3 separate regions of the Homo sapiens genome follow, and all the other regions are linked to region 1. The links are contacts of gene promoters, found by promoter capture Hi-C in blood cells and fetal thymus (Javierre and others, 2016). All regions are on one chromosome and are shown on one strand. The core of a region is centred on a gene start or on the middle of the fragment in contact, and the rest is flanking DNA. Distances in the headings are between cores, read along the strand shown. Region 1 holds the start of TMEM128 (transmembrane protein 128). Region 2 holds the start of LOC107986254 (a long non-coding RNA gene). Region 3 overlaps LOC124900165.

Region 1 (2,724 bases), core at 40-2,539:
GACGGGGTTTCACCATCTTGGCCAGGCTGCTCTATTTGGCCAGGTTGGTCTCGAACTCCTGACCTCGTGATCAGCCCGCCTCAGCCTCTCAAAGTGCTGGGATTACAGGCGTGAGCTACCCTGCCCAGCCTATAACTAAATATTTTAGTTACTTTAAACACAGCTCAAAAGTGGAAACGGCACACCAGAGCTCTAGTTCCAGCACAGCACTGTCTAGACAGGTGATGGACAAGACATTTTTCCTGTCTGGAACGCAATCTGAAAGAATGGGTGGATGGGGGTTGGGTCAGATGGATGATTTCTATTAAGTTTTCCGGGGATTCTGACATGCCCTCTAGGTTCACGTGAGAATCAATGGTCCACATCTGAGGTTTTGGGCCTTTAGATGACCATCGGAAACCCTGGGAAGCATGTTCGTAATATTCTGGGATATCCTCAAAATGTATACATCATCATGCCTGGGCATGAGGTTATTCGTGTTTTTAATTTTAAAAGGTAATAAATGGACGTGGTTTTAAAACATATGAGATAAAAAATATCCAAAATGAAGTATCTGTCTCCCATCCTTAACCTCAGATCTAATCCCCAGAAGCAACCACCACTTACAATTTCTACTGAATTCTTCCATATTCTATGCATTCACAGGTGAACATACATCACAAGTTACCTGTTTTGTACCCAAATGGCGGCATACCATAGTGTTCCACACTTCCCTTTGAAAATCATCCCCATTGGTACATACGAGTCGACCTGATGTGTCAGGTATACATATACCCAAATTTACTTAAACAGCTTTCTGCTGACGGGCAAGGCAGATATTTCCAGTAATTCGCTATTACAAGCAATCCTGAAGTGAAACACTGCGCACATCATTGTACACTGCGGTACACGCATGTTTCTGGTAAATCCTTAAGACTTAAAACTGGTGGGTATTTTTAATTTTAATCGCTATTTCCAAATAGGTGTCAAATCAGCTCTCCAGAGAATTCTGAAGCGCAGCTGAAATGACGATGCACAGCACTCCGCGATTCTAAGGATCTTCCCTGACATTAAATATTCGACTTGCAAAGCCGAAACTCAGTCCTTCCAGACTGGGCCAGGGCTGCCGGAGGCCGGCCGTTTTCCGACGCCTCGCCTCTGAGAACCTCGGGGCGGCTTGGTGCGCGCCTCACCCGGCCCGGCGTCACCCTCGCGGTCCAGCTGGGCCTCGGCGTCCGGCAGGAGGAGGAATCGCCGCCGGAGCTGCTGCCGGGCCCGCGAGGAGTCCATCTTGGTACCGCCCCGAAATGCGACGGAAGTGACGTCAGACACAGCGCTTCCGGCGTCCGCTCCGGGTCTGGACCTCCTGGCGTTTGGATTGGAGACTGTGTTCTCTTCGCTGTTTAGTTAGCGAGCAGCTAGGGTGGAGTCGGCCTCAAAGGTTCCGCTCTCATGTCGGCAAGTGTGATTTGAATTTTAAAACACTGAGCTTTGCCGGTGGAAGAGTTCCCAAGTTTATTCCGACCTACGGAAGCCCAGGAGGACCAGGATTACCGCTGCCGCTGGATGCGTCCAGGGCCGGGATGCGCGACCGTGAGACGCTGCGCTTCCGAAGCCCTCGCAGGCTTCCGGGTGCCAGAGCAGGAGACATACCCTCTGTCCAGCCTTCCACTCTCAGCCCCCAGTTTTTTTCCTACTTTTGCTTTTCAGGAGTCGTCCAGCAAGACTTGAAAGGAGGAGAAAGGCCTGCTGGACAGGATGCTAGAGCCTGGCAGTGACCACTTGGGGGCCCTGGGCATTAAATAAACTTCTTGGGGCCCGTTTCGTTATTACACTTGGCTCTAGATTTGTTGTGCGTTTCAGTGAGAAGTACCTGTATGTGGTTCATGTGAGCCTCCTCCTCGCCACTTGTGAAAAATCCTCCCAGCCTGAACCGAGGGAACTAAATTGCTTTCCCAGCAAACTGCGGTTTTCCACACTGCTCACGCCCACAAACTGTGTGTTACGAGTTCACAACTTTTTCTTCGTCAATAATCCCGCGTATTACTCTCCCAGCCGTTTCCCAGCGTGTCATGTGCTGAGAAATGGTGGGCTTAGCCACGCAAACGTTTACTGAGCATCTACTATTTGGTAGGAGCTGTTAGGCACCATGCTAGCAGTGGAGATAAAGATGAGTAAGACATGGCCTTGCACGTGAGGAGCTCCTTGTCCAAAGAAAACCACAGAGGTATATTACAAGAAAACTCTATTTGTAAATGTATGAAAGCATTTCATCAATGCAGCCAACATTTTCTGAGCAGCTGCATGTGATAAAATGGTGAGGACAGAAGAATCTAGTAGAGGAAGCAGCTTCAATACAGTGCCATAATAAAAACACTGTACATGGGGCATAATAGAAACACTGTACATATAAAGGGCAGTTTATTCTGCTGCAGTGTGGGAGAGCAGGGAGAGTGGTTTCAGGTGAGTTGAATACAGGGGTGGAGAGCCAGCTACATAGGAAGTAAAATTTGAATTAGTAGGCACTGTTTAATATCTTCGATGTGTTGGGGTGTTTGTAAAAGGAATGTAATAAGAAATACTCAAGAAAAGAGTGCCAGCCGCGCGCGGTGGCTCACGCCTGTAATCCCAACACTTTGCGAGGCCGAGGCGGGCGGATCACAAGGTCAGGCGTTTGAGACCAGCCTGGCCAACATGGCGAAACCCCGTCTCTACTAAAAATACAAAAGTTAGCCGGGAATGGTG
Region 2 (2,700 bases), core at 46-2,545, 280 kb after region 1:
AGGGAAAGTATGAACTGCCACGTCACTGAGAGAAAAATCTGTGTGAGCCTAAAATACTTGACTTTTCCCACTGTAATGCTGAGCCTAAGGAAGAAAGATAGAGAAAAAAATTATATATATATAATTTTATATATATATATGTTTTTATATATATATAATTTTATATATATATGTCTTTATATATATATACACACACACACACACATATATATATATATTAAAAACTACCTTAAATTAAAAGGCAGTGATGATTTGGCCCAAGTTCTGGGCATGGGGAAGACATCCCTTAGCCACTGTCTTTCAGGGTCACCCTGAGTGAGGCTGCAATGCTGCCTTGTCCATTGCTGGCTGGTACTAGCCTACTGGCTAAATCATCCTAACCCCCAGGATGCTAGACTTACACAGCGGAAAAATTCTAGAGCTGGTGGGCAGACACCTAACCTGAGTCATGGGCTGTGGATGCAAAGCTTCTACCCAGTTCCCAAGCCAACTCCTCTTTTCCAGCCTTCCCATCTCCTGCTGGAGCCTCCCATTAGTTGACCCCTATCAGAAGCCAGGGGGCAAGGAAACCCCACTATGCAGCCCATAAAGATCAGCCTCTTGATGTGATCCCCAATATTGGAGGGGGGGCCTGCTGGGAGGTGTTGGATCATGAGGGTTGATCCCTCATGAATGGCTTAGCGCTGTCCCCTTGGTGATAAGTGAATTCTTGCTCAGTTCACACAAGATCTGCTTGTTTAAAAGAGTCTGGGACCTCCCCCTTCTCTCTTCTTGTTCTCTCTCACCATGTGACACTCTTGCTCCCCCTTCACCTCCTGCCATGATTGTGAGCTTCCTGAGGCTTCACAAAAGCAGATGCCGATGCCATGCTTCTCGTACAGTCTGCAGAATCATAAGCCAAAATTAACCTCTTTTCGTTATAAATTACCCAGCTCCAGGTATTCCTTTATGGCAATGCAAAAAATGAACTAATACAGGTTGTGTGGCTAAACTGCATCTTTCGGATTGAGGCCCCCAGGTACTAGGAGAACTGCCTGCTGCTGGCTCACAGCCGAGTGTGTCTCAAGCAGCAGGAAGGTGCCTCACCCAACACTAGGGCCCTTCCCTGGGAGAAGCCCACAGACAATGGCTGGCCAATGCAGTGGTTAAAAAGCCCTGGCCCTTTGCCTCAATTGGGCAATTCTAAAAAGCCATCTCAGCTCCAGAGATCTCCACGGAACTGACCATTTAATGAACAAATAAAATCAAAAACTGGTATCCCAACAACAGAAAAGGGAATTACAATTTTTTTTCAAATGTCTATAATCCATAAATTGGGTCTCCTTCCCTCTCAATGATTTTACTAACTAAAACCACAAATCCTTTTCTCTTTTCCCCAAAAGCAAACCACAACACTTATCTTTAAGAAACGCATGGTTGGCCAGGTATGGTGGCTCACACCTGTAATCCCAGCACTTTCGGAGGCTGAGACGGGCGGATCACGAGGTCAGGAGATCGAGACTATCCTGGCTAACACGGTGAAACCCTGTCTCTACTAAAAATACACAAATTAGCCGGGAATGGTGGCTGGTGCCTGTAGTCCCAGCTGCTCAGGAGGCTGAGGCACGAGAATGGAGTGAACCAGGGAGGCGGAGCTTGCAGTGAATCAAGATCGCGCCACTGCACTCCAGCCTGGGCGAGACTCCGTCTCAAAAAAAAGAAAGAAAAGAAATGCACGGTCACAAGGTAATTGTTGATTAAAAGAAAAAGGTTGGTTTGGAAGCAGCCATATTTCCCCAAAAGTTAGTCAAGCACTTTCAAATATATAATGTATGCACCAAAATATGCTCCTAAAGACAGCAGATGATGTGATAACATACTAAAGAGCAAATCCCCAGAGGCGTGGTCTGTGGAATGCCAAGTGGAGCACAGTTCCCAGCCTGGGACACACTTGCCACAGGACACCTGTGCATGCCCAAGAGCTGGGGAGGCAGCAGGCAACCGGAGAAGCACAGCACACACGTGCCAGGACTACTCATCTCACAGCACCAGGGACGTCATCTTGGGAGATAGCTTACCCTTCTGAACCTCGGTTTCTTCATGAATAAAGGAGCCTAACTTGAAAGGATAGTCAAATAAATTATAAAGCTTTTACCACAGGGCCAGGTACAGTAGGTGCTCAACAAGTGGTAGCCATTATTATCATTTATTATGCTTTAGAATAACAACCAGAAACTAAGACATCAATGCAACATTTGTGGATGATTTTCTCATATAGATTAAGAAAGTCTGGATTGGAAATCCAGCTGAGTTACAGGAAAATTACTCCCTTTACAAAAGATTTTACCACAGACTTCCTTTAAATAGCCCCCACCCCTCCACTGCACATTTAATATAGAATTAGATATTGCTTGCTCATAACATTTTTCTAATCAAAAGCTATTAATTCTCCATTTCCTACCACAGCAAATAAAAACTCATCTGCCAGGAGTTTTACTTGTTCTGTTTTGCTTTTCATTTCAAAAGTAAATGTGCTCATTAAAGAAATTCTGGATGATAGAAGCAGAAAAATAAATCACCCAAGTCCCATCACTCAGAAAAAGCCATGGTTAACATTTTGGTGAGTTCCCTTCCAGTCATTTCCATGCCTAGAGTTTTTTGGGTTTGCATACATAGTTTTAATTGTAATTGGTTTGGGTAGTTATTTTTTTAAGCTAACAT
Region 3 (2,700 bases), core at 27-2,526, 320 kb after region 1:
CTTGGAATCTCTAGTTGCTAGGCGCGGGTGAACAGTGTCAAAACCCAGCCCATGATAGATTTATCATCCCCCTTACTGAGAACTGCCTATGGCCACATACTGTGCTTAGCATGTACACATTTTGGTTTATATAAACCTTCCAACAAGGTGCCAGGTGGGTAACGTGATTGAGATTAGGAAACTCAGGCTGAGGAAAGTTAAGTCACTTACTCAGTGTCACCTGGGAATAAGTGGCAGGGCTGGGGTTAGAACTCCCATCTGTCTGGCTTCAAGCTTATGTGCTTTCCATTATGTGCAGCCACCCTGCCAACTACTCAGCAGGGGCCTTCTGATGGACACTGTGAGAGGACAAGACACAAAAGAAATGTATACAATGGAGAAGACAATGATACAAATGATACAAAGGAGAAGACAATGGGCTTCTCCTTTGCCCCTGAGACTTCCTTTGAAAAATAATTTGCAAAATCCCGCTCCCTGTGCCTTGCTCTAGAGTTTGAAGGCTTGGGCCTGTGAACAGTGAGCTCTCAGGAGGCACAGATCGCTCCCTTAGGCACCATGCTTGAGACTTGACCACATTTCAGGCTGGCTCCGCCTGCTCTAGGCTGTGTCTCTAAAGGTGGCCCCACCCCTGCCTTGCACTAAGTCTTTACTCAAGAAAATGCAATGCTACCAAACCACAAAATGTGCATTGTCCCAACCCAGCTTGCACCAAATTGTTTTCAGGAATTCTCTAGTGACCCCTTCTGTAATTTCCATTTCCACATAAACCCCAGGCCCTTTTTGTTCCCCCTTCTTCACTTCCCCAGCATCCCTTTTTGTTCTCTCTCTGTTCTCCCTTCAGAAGCCTCAGTCCCCTTTAATTGGGGCTGAGTTCTGTCTGACCTGGAATCTCCCCCAAAGCAGGAGTCTGAATAAAACCTGTCTTGCCACCTTTCACAAGTGTTTTGCGCTGTGTGTGTGTGTGTGTGTGTGTGTTTTTTTTTTTTTTCATTGATAGTTCAAATCCTATTTCCTCTGGGTATTGTCTGTGTGTCCTTGGGTGAATCACTTCACTTCTCTGAGTCTCAACTTCCTCATCTTCAAAATGAGAACGTAGGTAGGCCCACCTTGCTGCAAGGTGATGAGGGAAGGCCCTCGCCAGGGGCCTGTCACTCCTTACTCAGGAATAATCACTGACCCATCCCCACAGTGCTGGAACTCTTCTAGGCATTGGGAGTAGAGAGAAGCAACACAGAGTTCCTGCCCACAGAGAGTGGACTTTCTAGTGAAGAAACAAACAACACACAGGGAAACCTATCTGTATTTGTCTGTTTTCATGCTGCTGATAAAGACATACCTGAGACTGGGCAGTTTACAAAAGGAAGAAAGGTTTAATGGACTTACAGGTTCACATGGCTGGAGAGGCTTCACAATCATGGTGGAAGGCAAGGAGGAGCAAGTCACGTCTTACATGGATGGCAGCAGGCAAAGAGAGAGCTTGTGCAGGGAAACTCCCATTTTTAAAACCATCAGATCTCACGAGACGTATTCACTATCGCAAGACCAGCACAGGAAAGACCTGCCCCCATGATTCAATTACCTCCTACTGTGTCCCTCCCACAACATGTAGGAATTCAAGATGAGATTTGGATGGGGACACAGCCAAACCATATTACCATCTTAAAATATCAAGCAGTGAAAGCATGATGAAGAAAGTTAACACAGGTGGAGGGATGCAGGTGACCAGGAGGAGGAGGAGCTATTTTCCAAGACCTCTCTGATGGGGGACATTTGCACAGGGAGCACCATGTAGAAATCTTGAGGGTTCACACTCCAAGCAAAGAGAAGAGCAAGTGCAAAGGCCCAGAGGCAGGAGAGCACTGGACCTGTTCCAGAAACCTCCAGCAGGCCAATGTAGCTGAAACACAGCCAGGCACAGGGGCTGAGACAGGAGGTGGGCCAGGCCATCTAGGGCTCAGGGACCATGGTCAGGACTCTATATTCATCCCAAAGGTGATAGGGAAGCACTAAGGTTACAGTGTAACCATATCCATGTCTCAATCACCTGCCTAACTCTACTAGAAGGAGGGAACGTGTCAGTGCTGGTTGAATTGTGACTTTCTCATGGGGTAGGGGGTGGGTTATAGGAACATGAGATATAAAACGTACCAGAAAAGGTATCCAACCTCTAGGCGTCCCCCTCCTTGGACACCTTCAGGTTCCATGGCGATATGATTTGGCTCTGTGTCCCCACCCAAATCTCATCTCAAATCGTAATCTGAGCAGTGGAGTAATATGATCTAAGCTTTATACATCCTATATATTTAACACCATCTCAAATTTACAAAAAAAGTTACAAGTATGGGACAAATAATTTTTGTCCCTGAGTCATCTGAAAGTAAGCTGCCAGCATGATGCCTGTCACCCCTGGACACTTTACTATGCATTTCCAACAAACAGAGAGAATGACCATCAAAATCACGACGTTCACAACATGCATTTTTACCATTTGAACCTCAGACCACATTCAGGTTTCATCCTTTGTCCCAATAATGTTCTTTATAACAAAAGGAGCCAGGGTGGAATCACACATTGCCTTTAGATATCAAGCTCCTTTAGTCTCCTTCAGTCTGAAATGTTTTCTCAGTCTTTCTGTGATTTTCGTGACCTTGACTCTTTTGAAGATGACTGGCCAATCATTTGATAGAATATCCTTCAATC

Evidence for each region. The method cuts DNA at HindIII sites, captures the fragments that hold promoters and counts their contacts. A CHiCAGO score of 5 or more calls a contact.
Region 2: a contact is called between a fragment that was not itself captured here and the fragment with the promoter of TMEM128 in region 1, in 2 of 17 cell types (total CD8 T cells and naive CD8 T cells). The highest score is 5.6, in total CD8 T cells.
Region 3: a contact is called between a fragment that was not itself captured here and the fragment with the promoter of TMEM128 in region 1, in 1 of 17 cell types (total CD8 T cells). The highest score is 5.2, in total CD8 T cells.

What each region holds. Positions count from the first base shown.
Region 1 is chr4:4,246,934-4,249,657 of GRCh38, forward strand. It overlaps TMEM128 (transmembrane protein 128), which reads right to left and starts at 1,290. Exons shown (of 5, transcript NM_001297551.2): 1 at 1,173-1,290. The coding sequence starts at 1,269. RefSeq lists enhancers at 632-1,258, 1,561-1,670. The HindIII fragment of the contact is 7,732 bases long and covers 1-2,724 here.
Region 2 is chr4:4,527,664-4,530,363 of GRCh38, forward strand. The region is part of intron 1 of STX18 (syntaxin 18); the gene reads right to left. LOC107986254 (a long non-coding RNA gene) reads right to left here and starts at 1,480. Exons shown (of 2, transcript XR_001741564.2): 1 at 786-1,480; 2 at 1-84. The HindIII fragment of the contact is 1,660 bases long and covers 466-2,125 here.
Region 3 is chr4:4,568,609-4,571,308 of GRCh38, forward strand. The region is part of intron 2 of LOC124900165; the gene reads left to right. The region is part of intron 2 of STX18-AS1 (STX18 antisense RNA 1 (head to head)); the gene reads left to right. It overlaps LINC03091 (long intergenic non-protein coding RNA 3091), which reads right to left. Exons shown (of 5, transcript NR_199719.1): 3 at 211-338. Among named protein-coding and RNA genes, the nearest start is that of LINC03091, 5.9 kb to the right of the region's middle. The HindIII fragment of the contact is 2,011 bases long and covers 272-2,282 here.